Linked DNA regions of Homo sapiens: all the other regions are linked to region 3. Evidence: promoter capture Hi-C in 16 types of primary human blood cells and fetal thymus (Javierre and others, 2016). All regions are on one chromosome and are shown on one strand. Each heading gives the region's core, a stretch centred on a gene start or on the middle of the fragment in contact. The rest is flanking DNA. Distances are from core to core; before and after follow the strand shown. Region 1 overlaps NLRP12 (NLR family pyrin domain containing 12). Region 2 has its middle 2.0 kb from the start of MIR373. Region 3 holds the start of CACNG6 (calcium voltage-gated channel auxiliary subunit gamma 6).

Region 1 (3,878 bases), core at 1-2,500, 180 kb before region 3:
GCCGTGTGTGGGAAATAGCTCATCCCTTGTTCCTTGTAGCGCACCCTCCTCCCTGGGTCCCCCTCATGGTCATTGGCACCTCCATCCATCCAATCAGTCTTTTTTTTTTTTTTTTTTTTTGAGACGGAGTCTTGCTCTGTTGCCCAGGCTGGAATGCAGTGGCATGATCTCGGCTCACCACAACCTCCACCTCCTGAATTCAAGCGATTCTCCTGCCTCAGCCTCACGAGTAGCTGGCATTACAGGTGTGCGCCACAATGCCTGGCTAATTTTTGTATTTTTAGTAGAGACGGGGTTTCACTATGTTGGCCAGGCTGGTCTTGAACTCCTGACCTTGTGATCCACCTGCCTTGGCCTCCCAAAGTGCTGGGTTTACAGATGTGAGCCACTGCACCTGGCACCAACCAATCTTTTTGACTGGGAAGTTCTGAGTCAGTCTGGACTCCTCCCTTGTCAGCTCTGGGCCACATCTCATCCATTATCTTTTCTTTTTTCTTTTCGAGACGGAGTCTGGCTCTGTTGCCCAGGCTGGAGTGCAGTGGCACAATCTTGGCTCACTGCAACCTCTGCCTCCCGGGTTCAAGTGATTCTCCTGCCTCAGCCTCCTGAGTAGCTGGGACTACAGGCATGTGTCACCACGCCCGGATAATTTATTTTGTATTTTTAGTAGAGACAGGGTTTCACCATGTGGGTCAGGCTGGTCTTGAACTCCTGACCTCGTGATCCACCCAACTCGGCCTCCCAAAGTGCTGGGATTACAGGCGTGAGCCACTGCGCCTGGCGACTCTGTCTCTTAAAAATATTTTAATTTTTTTTTTTTTTTTTGGTAGAGATTAGGTCTCAGTATGTTACCCAGGCTGGTCTGGAACTCCTAGCTTCAAGCAGTCTTTCGACCTTGGCCTCTTGAAGTGTTGGAAATAGTGGTATGGGCCATCGTGCCCAGCCCAAAAAAGGCCTTCGTTTGGATATATCATAAGATTCTACACATCGAGTCCTTCCTTGGCATCTTTGGTCCTCAGAAGGCCCCCCAAAGTCCTAAGTGTGAGTTCCTTTGCTCTCACTCCATGAGAAAGTCTTCCCACCTGGCTAGTTCTCCCATCAGCTGAGCCAGCGGCACCCCATCTGGTCCTCACTCTGATAAGTTTTCACCTCCCTGCTGGTTGCTAGTCCATGAAATGATTCATGAAAGCAAAGAACATCCTTTTGAAGGAGCCAGGAGGCACCCCACCCTCTTGTTACTACACAGCCCGCCCCCCCCAACAGTCTCTGTAGCTTCATGTGACCCTCTTGGCATATGGGGACACCTTCCCTGTGAGTCTGTGTGACTAATAAACTGTTGTCTTTCCTCTGTTCAGTGCTGGCTCTGGTAGATTCAGTCATCTGGCACCATTTTATTTATTTATTTTTATTTATTTGAGACAGTCTCGCTCTGTCGCCCAGGCTGGAGTGCAGTGGCGCGATCTCGGCTCACTACAATCTTCACCTCCCAGGTTTAAGTGATTCTCCTGCCTCAGTCTCCCGAGTAGCTGGGACTACAGGCACCCATGACCACGCAGGTGGTGGTAAAAATACAAAAAAATAATTTTTGTATTTTTAGTAGAGATGCGGTTTGACCATGTTGGCCAGGCTGGTCTTGAACTCCTGACCTCAGGTGATCTGCCTGCCTCGGCCTCCCAAAGTGCTGGGATTACAGGCGTGAGCTACTGCACCCGGCCACTCAAAAATTTTTAATTGGAGAAGGTTATCATTGAGAGGAAAGGGGAAAATAGGGAATTGTTTAATGGGTATCGAGTTTGTTTTGCAAGATGAAGAGTTCTGCAGATTGAATGCACATCAGTGTAAATGTACAACACTCAGCAGCACACTTAAAAATGGTTAAGAGGGCCAGGGCGCGGTGGCTCACGCCTGTAATCCCAGCACTTTGGGAGGCCAAGGCGGGTGGATCACAAGGTCAGGAGATCGAGACCATCCTGGGTAACACGGTGAAACCCCGTCTCTACTAAAAATACAAAAAAAAATTAGCTGGGCATGGTGGCAGGCACCTGTAGTCCCAGCAATTTGGGAGGCCGAGGCAGGTGGGATTACCTGATGTCAGGAGTTCAAGACTAGCCTTACCAACGTGGTGAAACCTTGTCTCTATTAAAAATACAAAAATGAGCCAGGCATGGTGGCGCGTGCCTGTAATCCCAGCTACTCGGGAGGCTGAGGCAGGAGAATCGCTTGAACCAGGGAGTCAGAGGTTGAAGTGTGCTGACATCGCATCATTGCACTCCAGCCTGGTGACGGAGCGAGACTCCATCTCAAGAAAGAAAAAGTGGTTAAGAGGAGGCTGGGCGCGGTGGCTCATGCCTGTAATCCCTGCACTTTGGGAGGCCAAGGTGGGTGGATTACCTGAGGTCAGGAGTTCAAGACCAGTCTGACCAACATGGAGAAACCCCATCTCTACTAAAAATACAAAAATTAGCTGGGCGTGGTGGCAGATGCCTGTAATCCCAGCTACTTGGGAGGCTGAGGCAGGATAATTGCTTGAACCCATGAGGCAGAGGTTGCAGTGAGCCGAGATCGCGCCACTGCACTCCAGCCTAGGCAACAAGAGTGAAATTCCATCTCAAAGAAAAAAAGAAAAAGAGGGCAAATTTCATGTTTTGTGTATTTTAGCACTATTTATTTATTTATTTATTTATGAGACAGAGTCTCACTGTGTCGTCCAGGCTGGTGTGATGTTGGCTCACTGCAACCTCTGCCTCCAGGGTTCAAGTGATTCTCCTGCCTCAGCCTCCGGAGTAGCTGGGATTACAGGCATGTACAACCACGACCAGCTAATTTTTGTATTTTTAGTAGAGACAGGGTTTCACCATGTTGGCCAGGCTGTTGTCAAATTCCTAGTCTCAAGTGATTCACGTGCCTCAGCCTCCAACATGCTGGGATTACAGGCATGAGCCACTGCAGCTGGTTGGCAATTTTTTTTTTTTTTTGAGAGAGGGTCTTGCTCTGTTGCTCAGGCTGGAGTAGTGTGGCATGATCTTGGCTCACTGCAGCCTTCACCTCCTGGGCTTAAGTGATCCTCCCATCTCAGCCTCCCAGGTAGCTGGGTCTGCAGGCATGCACCACTGTGCCTGGTCAATTTTGTAGAGAAGGGGTTTTGCCATGTTGCCTAGACCAGTCTCAAACTTCTGGGCTCAAGTGATCTGCCTGCCTCAGCCTCCCAAAGTGCTGGGATTATAGGTGTGGCCACATTTTTTTTTTTTAAAGGTAATCCAGGCCAGCGCGGTGGCTCACGCCTGTAATCCCAACATTTTGGGAGGCTGAGGTGGGTGGATCATGAGGTCAGGAGATTGAGACCATCCTGGCTAATATGGTGAAACCCCATCTCTACTATAAATACGAAATTAGCCGGGCGTGGTGGCGGGTGCCTGTAGTCCCAGGTACTCGGGAGGCTGAGGCAGGAGAATCGCTTGAACCCGGGAGGCGGAGGTTGCAGTGAGCCGAGAACGCACCACTGCACTCCGGCCTGGGTGACAGAGTGAGACTCCGTCTCAAAAAAATAAATAAATAAAAATAAAAAAGGTAATTCTTGAAAATTGCAGCTGAAAAAGGCCTCAGAGATGTTCTCCCTCAGTGTTTCCTAGGCATGCCGCGAGAACCAGCCACATCAAAATGCAGATTCCTGTTGCCTAAGACCTGCTGATTCAGAATCACGGGTTGAGGGTCTTGGATTCCCCATTGGCCACAAGTGTCTCGAGAGACTCTTACGCACAGTAACATGAGAACTGCCGATCTTGCCTGATGCCCTTGTTTTACAGATGGAGATGGAGGCCCAGGGGCATATCGATTCTCCAGCATCACACAGACAGAAAGAGCAAAGCTAGACATCTGTC
Region 2 (3,714 bases), core at 969-3,468, 200 kb before region 3:
AGCTTCAGCTATGACCTGGAGTTCCCGGGCTTCTCTGCGGGGCACCAGTCTGTATGCTCCATTTTAGATAATAAAAATTGGCATATTCTGGGGTGGGCAGGATACGGGGTTCACCTGCAGATGAACAGGGCAGGAAAAGCTTGATGGGGTGTCGGGGGAATCTGGTTGGCCTTAAAGGGAATTTGGGGTCCTGTTCCTGAATTTGGTAGGCAGCATGCATGTAAGGCTTGAAGTGGGTTTGGCCAGAGCATGGGCTGGAGTGCTTCCACCCTGCTACACGGACAATGCCACAGTCTCACTTTTCCTAACTTTTTTTTTTAATAAAATGTGAACAACATCATGTGTTTCTGGTCTATTGGGTTCCTCTGCCACCCACAAGTGCTGGGATTACAGGCATGAGCCTCATGTCTGGCGTTACTGAACCTTCTTCTATGACCCAAGTACATTGCCTAAAAATACTTGTCAGTATTTTGTGCTTCCCTTCTACCCCTGCTAGAACTTAGAGTTATGCTCTTTGAGAGTTCTGCTCTTTAAACTTCAAACAAGTTTAAAAAGTAAGGCCGGGCACAGTGGCAGCACTGCCGAGGCCGACGCAGGCTGATCATGAGGTCAGATCAAGACCATCCTGGCTCACACGGTGAAACCACATCTCTACTAAAAAATACAAAAACATTAGCCGGGCATGGCGGTGGGTGCCTGTAGTCACAGGCTGAGGCAGAAAGGGCATGAACCCGGGAGGTGGAGCTTGCAGCCAGCCGAGGTTGTGCCACTGCACTCCAGCCTGGGTGACAGCGATAACTGTCTCAAAAAATAAAAACCACCCAGGCTGAAGTGTGGTGGCACCATCACAGCTCCCTGCAGGCCTGAGCTCCCTAGATCAAAAGATCTTCCCATATAAGCCCCCCCTCACCCCACCCTTAGTAGCTGGCACCACAGGAGTGTCCCCGCCATGCTCCACTAATGTTTAGTAGAAATTGGGGTCTCATACATTGGCCAGCTTGGTCTGAAACTTAGGGGGAATCAAACATCCCTCCTTTAGTAGAGATGGGGCTTTACTGTCTTGCCCTGGGTGGCCTCCCTGGGATGATGGGTGTGAGCCACAGTGCCAGGCCTAAGTTCATATTTGGAAGGTTTTTTTGCTTCAGATGGTCTCGTGCTCTCGCTCAGGTTGGAGCGCAATGGCGCAATCTTGGTTCACTGCAACCTCTGCCAGCTTAAGCGATTCTCCTGCCCCCGCCTCCCAAGTAGCTGGGATTACAGGCATAAGCCACCACGCCTGGCTAATTTTTTGCATTTTTTAGAGATGGGATTTCTCCACGTTGGCCAGGCTGCTCTGGAACTCCTGACCCCAGGTGATCCACCCACCTCGGCCTCCCAAAGTGCTGGGATTATAGGCGTGAGCCACCACGTGGGGCCTTCAGTAGGTTCTTAGTTGCTGTTTGCCCTATCACTGGTTTCCGGGTCTGCTGGCCACTATCCCCTGTAAGTTTTCCTATCCCCTGTAGGTGTTCCAAACCCTTGCGGCTGCTTTGCCCACTCCACAGTATCTGAACTGAAGTAAGATCTCAAATTCAAGGGAGTTTTGTTTTGCTATTTGTACCCGCAATTCATAAAGCAGTTGTAGCCTCTGTCCCAATACCGCCACCACTGGTGGGGAGTCCGCCACGGTAACCAGTAAGACTTCTCTTTATATTTGACCTACCTGGGCCTCCTGTCATCTTTTCTACGGGCAGCTTGGGGATTGTTAGTTGAGGGTTTTTTGTTTTTGTGTTTTTTTTTTTGTTTTTTTTTTTTTTTAAAGAGATGGAGTCTCGCTCTGTCGCCAGACTGGAGTACAATGGCATGATCTTGGCTCACTGCAACTTCCACCTCCCAGGTTCAAGCGATTCTTTTGCCTCAGCCTCCCGAGTAGCTGGTATTATAGGCACCCACCACCATGCCCAGCTAATTTTTTTTGGATTTTTAGTACAGATGGCGTTTCCCCATGTTGGCCGGGCTGGTCTCACTAAACTCCTGACCTCAAGTGATCCACCCACCTTGGCCTCCCAAAATTCTGAGATTACAGGTTTGAGCCACTGCGCCCAGCCTTTAGTTGAGTTTCTTAAGCTTGTTTAGGGTTTAGCCTGTATGGCCAGCAGGGTGTAGGTGGGGGTGGTTTGTAAGCAGGGCTGTTTGCTTCAGAAGCAGCTGTGGAAACAGGACTGAATGCAGACATATAAAGAATATTGGGTAAATAACTTTTTAAAAAATTTAGAGATAGGATCCCACTATGTTGCCCAATCTGGTCTTGAAACCTAAACAATCTCTTATCCCAAAGTGCTGGGATTGCAGAAAGCTTAAGGCACAGTTTTACGTGGTAATGGTGGGCCATTTTTAGTTTCTTTTTTGTAGACGATCATGTCATCTAGGCTGGAATGTAGCGGTTCTGTCGAGCTAGGTGTAGCCTCCACTTCCTGGACTCAAGCATTTTTCCTCAGCTTCAGTAGCTGGGTCTATGCATGAATACCCCTTCTGGGGTAGATAGATAGTAGTACATAGAGTAGATAATTTTTTTGTGTTCAGGCGGCACCTTAAGGTTGGTGTAAAAATTCTTGGCCTTCTAAAGAGCTGGAATTAGACATGAGCTGTTGCACCTGGCCAATGGGACAATTATGTCTACAGGACTGAATCAGTATCTGATCTCTGGAGTTGTAAGGTCACTTTTTCTGAAACTGCCTCAGTCTCCTTGCAGGTTCTGGTCTGTAGATCTCCAGTGTGTGGGCTGAGCACAGCATGGGGACCTGATTTCCCACCGGGCAGTGACATAGTTTAAAGATTCTTAGTTCGAATTCCTAATAATGGGAATATAGGTTTCTGTGTATTGAAATGGGAATATGCATTTTTTTTTTTTTTAGAGTCTTGCTCTGTCACTAGGCTGGAGTGCAGTGGCACAATCTCGGCTCACTGCAACCTCCGCCTCCTGGGTTCAAGTGGTTCCCCTGCCTCAGCCTCCTGAGTAGCTGGGACTACAGGCGCCCTCCACCACGCCCTGCTAATTTTTTGTATTTTAGTAGAGACGGGGTTTCACCATGTTGGCCAGGATGGTCTTGATCTCCTCACCTTGTGATCCACCCGCCTTGGCCTCCCAAAGTGCTGGGATTACAAGCGTGAGCCTCTGCACCCAGCCAAGGGAATATGGATTCCTCTTTTTTTTTTTTTTTTTTTTTTTTTTGAGACGGCGTCTCTATCACCCAGGCTGGAGTGCAATGGCGTGATCTCTGCTCACTGCAACCTCTGTCTCCCGGGTTCAAGTGATTCTCCTGCCTCAGCCTCCCGAGTAGCTGGGATTACCCGCATGTGCTATCACGCCTGGTTAATTCTATATTTTTATTAGAGACAGGGTTTCTCCATGTTGGTCAGGCTGGTCTTGAACTCCCGACCTCAGGTGATCTGCCCTCCTTGGCCTCCCAAAGTGCTGGGATTACAGGTGTGAGCCACCACACCCTTTTTTTTTTTTTTTTTTTAAGATGGAGTCTCGCTCTGTCGCCCAGGCTGGAGTGCAGTAGTGCGATCTCGGTTCACTGCAACCTCTGCCTCCCAGGTGCAAGCGATTCTCCCGCCTCAGCCTCCCCAGCAGCTGGGACTATAGGTGCATGCCACCACACCCAGCTAATTTTTTGTATTTTTAGTAGAGATGGGGTTTCACTGTGTTAGCCAGGATGGTATTGATCTCTT
Region 3 (3,683 bases), core at 753-3,252:
TCTGACGGGGCCACGCGGGCATTGAGGAAACGCAGCAGGCCCCTCCCCTAGCTGGGGCGGGGATGTCTGTGTGCCATCATCTCACTCCATCTGGTCATTCCTTTGCCCATTCATCCATCCATTCATTCAAGTCACCCCATGCACATTTTCCAAGACTGCCTGTGACCTGGCCCTGTGCCGGGTAGAGCTGAGGATGCCAAGGTGAATTCCTCCTGTGCCTGGCCCCGGCCCCAGTCTGCTGGAAGAACCAGACACAGACAATCACACTGCGGGGAAACACGTGCTCCATCGGAAAAGTCCAGAGCAGGGGGTGGGCAGAGAGGCCCAGCGTGCACCAGAGCCTCGCTCAGGTCAGCGCCAGGCCTGCCTGGAGCAGCCAACTGTGGGAGAAGAAGGAGTTGGTGAAAGGTGGGTCCCACCTGGGCCGTCCACAGAAGGGCTGAGGGGTAGGGGGTGAGGGGTTGAAGATCAGGCCCTGCCGCCATGCCACACGGCTGTCCTCTGTCCCTGCTCCTGGGGGAGCTGAAACTGCATGGAAGGTCCCCCAGGGGTGCCCCGTCTAATAAACTCGATGAAGAGGAGTGCTGCTTTCATTCTGTGCCCCTGACAGCCGGCCCTGCCCTGAGGCCTGCGCTTTCTCCAACATGGAAATCAGGCCTTCCATCCTTCAAGACCCAGGGTTCTGGCCCCAGTCTCCTCCCTGAGGCCCAGGACTCTGGGTCTGCCAACGCCTTGACCAGGAGTCCAGGCTCCCCGGCCCTCCTCCTCCCTCAGACCCAGGAGTCCAGGCCCAGCCCCTCCTCCCTCAGATCCAGGAGTCCAGGCCCCCTGCCCCCTCCTCCCTCAGACCCAGGAGTCCAGGCCCAGGCCTTCCTCCCTCAGACCCAGGAGCCCAGGCCCCCAGCCCCTCCTCCCTCAGACCCAGGAGCCCAGGCCCCCAGCCCCTCCTCCCTCAGACCCAGGAGCCCAGGCCCCCAGCCCCTCCTCCCTCAGACCCAGGAGTCCAGGCCCCCAGCCCCTCCTCCTTCAGACCCAGGAGTTCAGGCCCCAGTCCCTCCTCCCTCAGACCCAGAAGTCCAGGCCCCCAGCCCCTCCTCCCTCAGACTCAGGAGCCCAGGCCCCCAGCCCCTCCTCCCTCAGACCCAGGAGTCCAGGCCCCAGCCCCTCCTCCCTCAGACCCAGGAGTCCAGACCCCCAGCCCCTCCTCCCTCAGACCCAGGAGCCCAGGCCCCCAACCCCTCCTCCCTCAGACCCAGGAGTCCAGGCCCCCAGCCCCTCCTCCCTCAGACCCAGGAGTCCAGGCCCCCAGCCCCTCCTCCTTCAGACCCAGGAGTTCAGGCCCCAGTCCCTCCTCCCTCAGACCCAGAAGTCCAGGCCCCAGTCCCTCCTCCCTCAGACTCAGGAGCCCAGGCCCAGCCCCTCCTCCCTCAGACCCAGGAGTCCAGACCCCAGCCCCTCCTCCCTCAGACCCAGGAGTTCAGGCCCCCAGCCCCTCCTCCCTCAGACTCAGGAGCCCAGGACCTAGGAGACCAGGTTCCTCTCCTCTCAGATCCAAGATTCTGGGTACCCAGGCCTTCTTCCTCTACCACTCAGAAGTGGGGTACCGAGGCTTCTTCTCCCTTAGGGACCCAAGACTCCTGGCCTCAGGCCCTCCTCCCTGAGACCCGGGGCCCTGCCTCCCGCCCCTCCTCCCTGGTAACCCCAGTCAGACTTGCTGCCCCGCCCGTCTCCTGCTGCCCGGGAGACTGCGGAGCTGGGACTCTCGGCGCCGCTCTTGCCCCTTAGTGAAATGAAAGTCCCATCAGGCTCGGCCCCTTCCTCCCCGGGCGGCCTCCCTCCCCCCTTCCTCGTCCCCTTAAAACACCCGGGATCCCTATGGCAACAGGCGCCGGGCGACAGGTGCGGGTGTTATTTACGGGTCAAGCCCGAAATAGCCCCGAGGGTGGAGGGTGGAGGGTGGGGGGTGGGCGGGTGGGGACGAGGCCGGGCGCGGGCGGAGGCCAGGCCGGTGGCGGTGGCGGGCACAGCCGGACGCTTCGGAGGCAGCGCGGAGCTGGGGTCGGCGCGGGGCCGAGGCAGGAGAGCGAGAGGGGCCCCTGCTCGGGAGTCGGGGGTGGGAGCCCCGAGGGGGGGCCCTGGCCTGGGGCTGAGCCTGGCGCGAACCCGACCGGGAAGGCCCTGGGAGCCCGGGGGAGGGAGACGGACTGATCCCGAAGGGGCGCAGCGTCTCTTGCGGGTCGCGGTTGGCCTTTGAACCCTGGGGGGACTCAGTCCTGGTTTTCCGAGCCGCAGTGCGGACCACAGCCCCATAGTGTGAGCCCCAGGAGGGCCCCCGGTCCCATCTGCCCCAGCCCTCGGGGAGGCCCCGTAGCCTCCCGCCTCTGGACTCCACTCTGTCTTCCGGCCACCGGCCCCTTTTCCAGGCTCAGTAGAGACCTCGGATCTTTTCTGAATGGCAGGGGAGACCCCTATCCCCTTTTCCTGAATTCCAGCGAGGCCCAGTCCTCTTCTGAGCCCCAGCCAGGGCTCTGTTCTTCTCCTTCTGTGGATGCCGGGGTCCTACTGCCTCTCTTGAGACCCGGATTGAATTCCGACCTCCCCTTGGGAGCTTCCCGGGACCCCAGGTCTTCCTTTTCCGAATCCCAGAGGGTCCCCAAGTCCTCTGTTCTCAAACTCTGAGCCCAAGGGAACCCCGGCCACATCTCCTCCAAACACACACAGGACCTCAGGTCCCTTCCTGGGTACCCCAAACTCTTAGCCCTAGTGGGGTGCTCAGATCTCTCAGGAAAACCAGTTTCCCTTTTGTTAACCCCCCAGCGGGGACCCCAAAGCAGCCCCTTGGAGCTGCAGGGAGCTTCAGCGGGCACCAGTTCTCATTCCTCTGGAGCTCTTGGGGGGACTCCCTCCTGGGAAGCCGAATTCTATCTCTAAACCTCAGGGTGGGGGCCTTGTTTTTCCTCTGGGCCCCGTCTTCTTTGCCAAGTTCTTGAGGGCAACCTAGACCCTCCTCTGAACCCCAGAGGCTTCCCCAGCCCTGGGGATCATTTTTCTCTTCTGAACCCCAGAAGCAATCTCGACTTTCGCATTTGAGATTCCAGACAGGACTCGGCTCTCCCTCTTTCATACCCAGGGGAAACTGAGTCCCTCACCCCCTTCAAGACCCCAGGCCGCTCCTCGCTCCCGCCCCTCGAGGCCCTTCGCCGGCTCTGCCTCCTCCCCCTTCCCGACCCCACCGGCCATAAGATGATGTGGTCCAACTTCTTCCTGCAAGAGGAGAACCGGCGGCGGGGGGCCGCGGGCCGGCGGCGGGCGCACGGGCAGGGCAGGTCGGGGCTGACGCCCGAGCGCGAGGGGAAGGTGAAGCTGGCGCTGCTGCTGGCCGCCGTGGGCGCCACGCTGGCGGTGCTGTCCGTGGGCACCGAGTTCTGGGTGGAGCTCAACACCTACAAGGCCAACGGCAGCGCCGTGTGCGAAGCGGCCCACCTGGGGCTGTGGAAGGCGTGCACCAAGCGGCTGTGGCAGGCGGACGTGCCCGTGGACAGGGACACCTGCGGCCCCGCGGAGCTGCCCGGAGGTGAGCAGCCGCCGCCCCGAGCGCAGGGCTTGCGTCCCACGGACAGGGAGGGAGAGGGGCCCGTGTCCGAGGAGAAAACCCGCCCCAGGGACAAAAGCCTGAGCCCGGA

What was found. The method cuts DNA at HindIII sites, captures the fragments that hold promoters and counts their contacts. A CHiCAGO score of 5 or more calls a contact.
Region 1: a fragment that was not itself captured here is called in contact with the fragment with the promoter of CACNG6 in region 3 in 1 of 17 cell types (erythroblasts); the score reaches 5.0 in erythroblasts.
Region 2: a fragment that was not itself captured here is called in contact with the fragment with the promoter of CACNG6 in region 3 in 13 of 17 cell types (M1 macrophages, M0 macrophages, M2 macrophages and 10 more); the score reaches 12.1 in M1 macrophages.

The regions. Positions count from the first base shown.
Region 1 is chr19:53,815,127-53,819,004 of GRCh38, forward strand. The region is part of intron 1 of NLRP12 (NLR family pyrin domain containing 12); the gene reads right to left. Among named protein-coding and RNA genes, the nearest start is that of NLRP12, 7.2 kb to the right of the region's middle. The HindIII fragment of the contact is 7,313 bases long and covers 1-3,878 here.
Region 2 is chr19:53,788,832-53,792,545 of GRCh38, forward strand. No RefSeq gene overlaps it. Among named protein-coding and RNA genes, the nearest start is that of MIR373, 2.0 kb to the left of the region's middle. RefSeq lists an enhancer at 3,315-3,714. The HindIII fragment of the contact is 229 bases long and covers 2,105-2,333 here.
Region 3 is chr19:53,989,635-53,993,317 of GRCh38, forward strand. It overlaps CACNG6 (calcium voltage-gated channel auxiliary subunit gamma 6), which reads left to right and starts at 2,003. Exons shown (of 4, transcript NM_145814.2): 1 at 2,003-3,574. The coding sequence starts at 3,244. It overlaps CACNG8 (calcium voltage-gated channel auxiliary subunit gamma 8), which reads left to right. Exons shown (of 4, transcript NM_031895.6): 4 at 1-581. The HindIII fragment of the contact is 26,668 bases long and covers 1-3,683 here.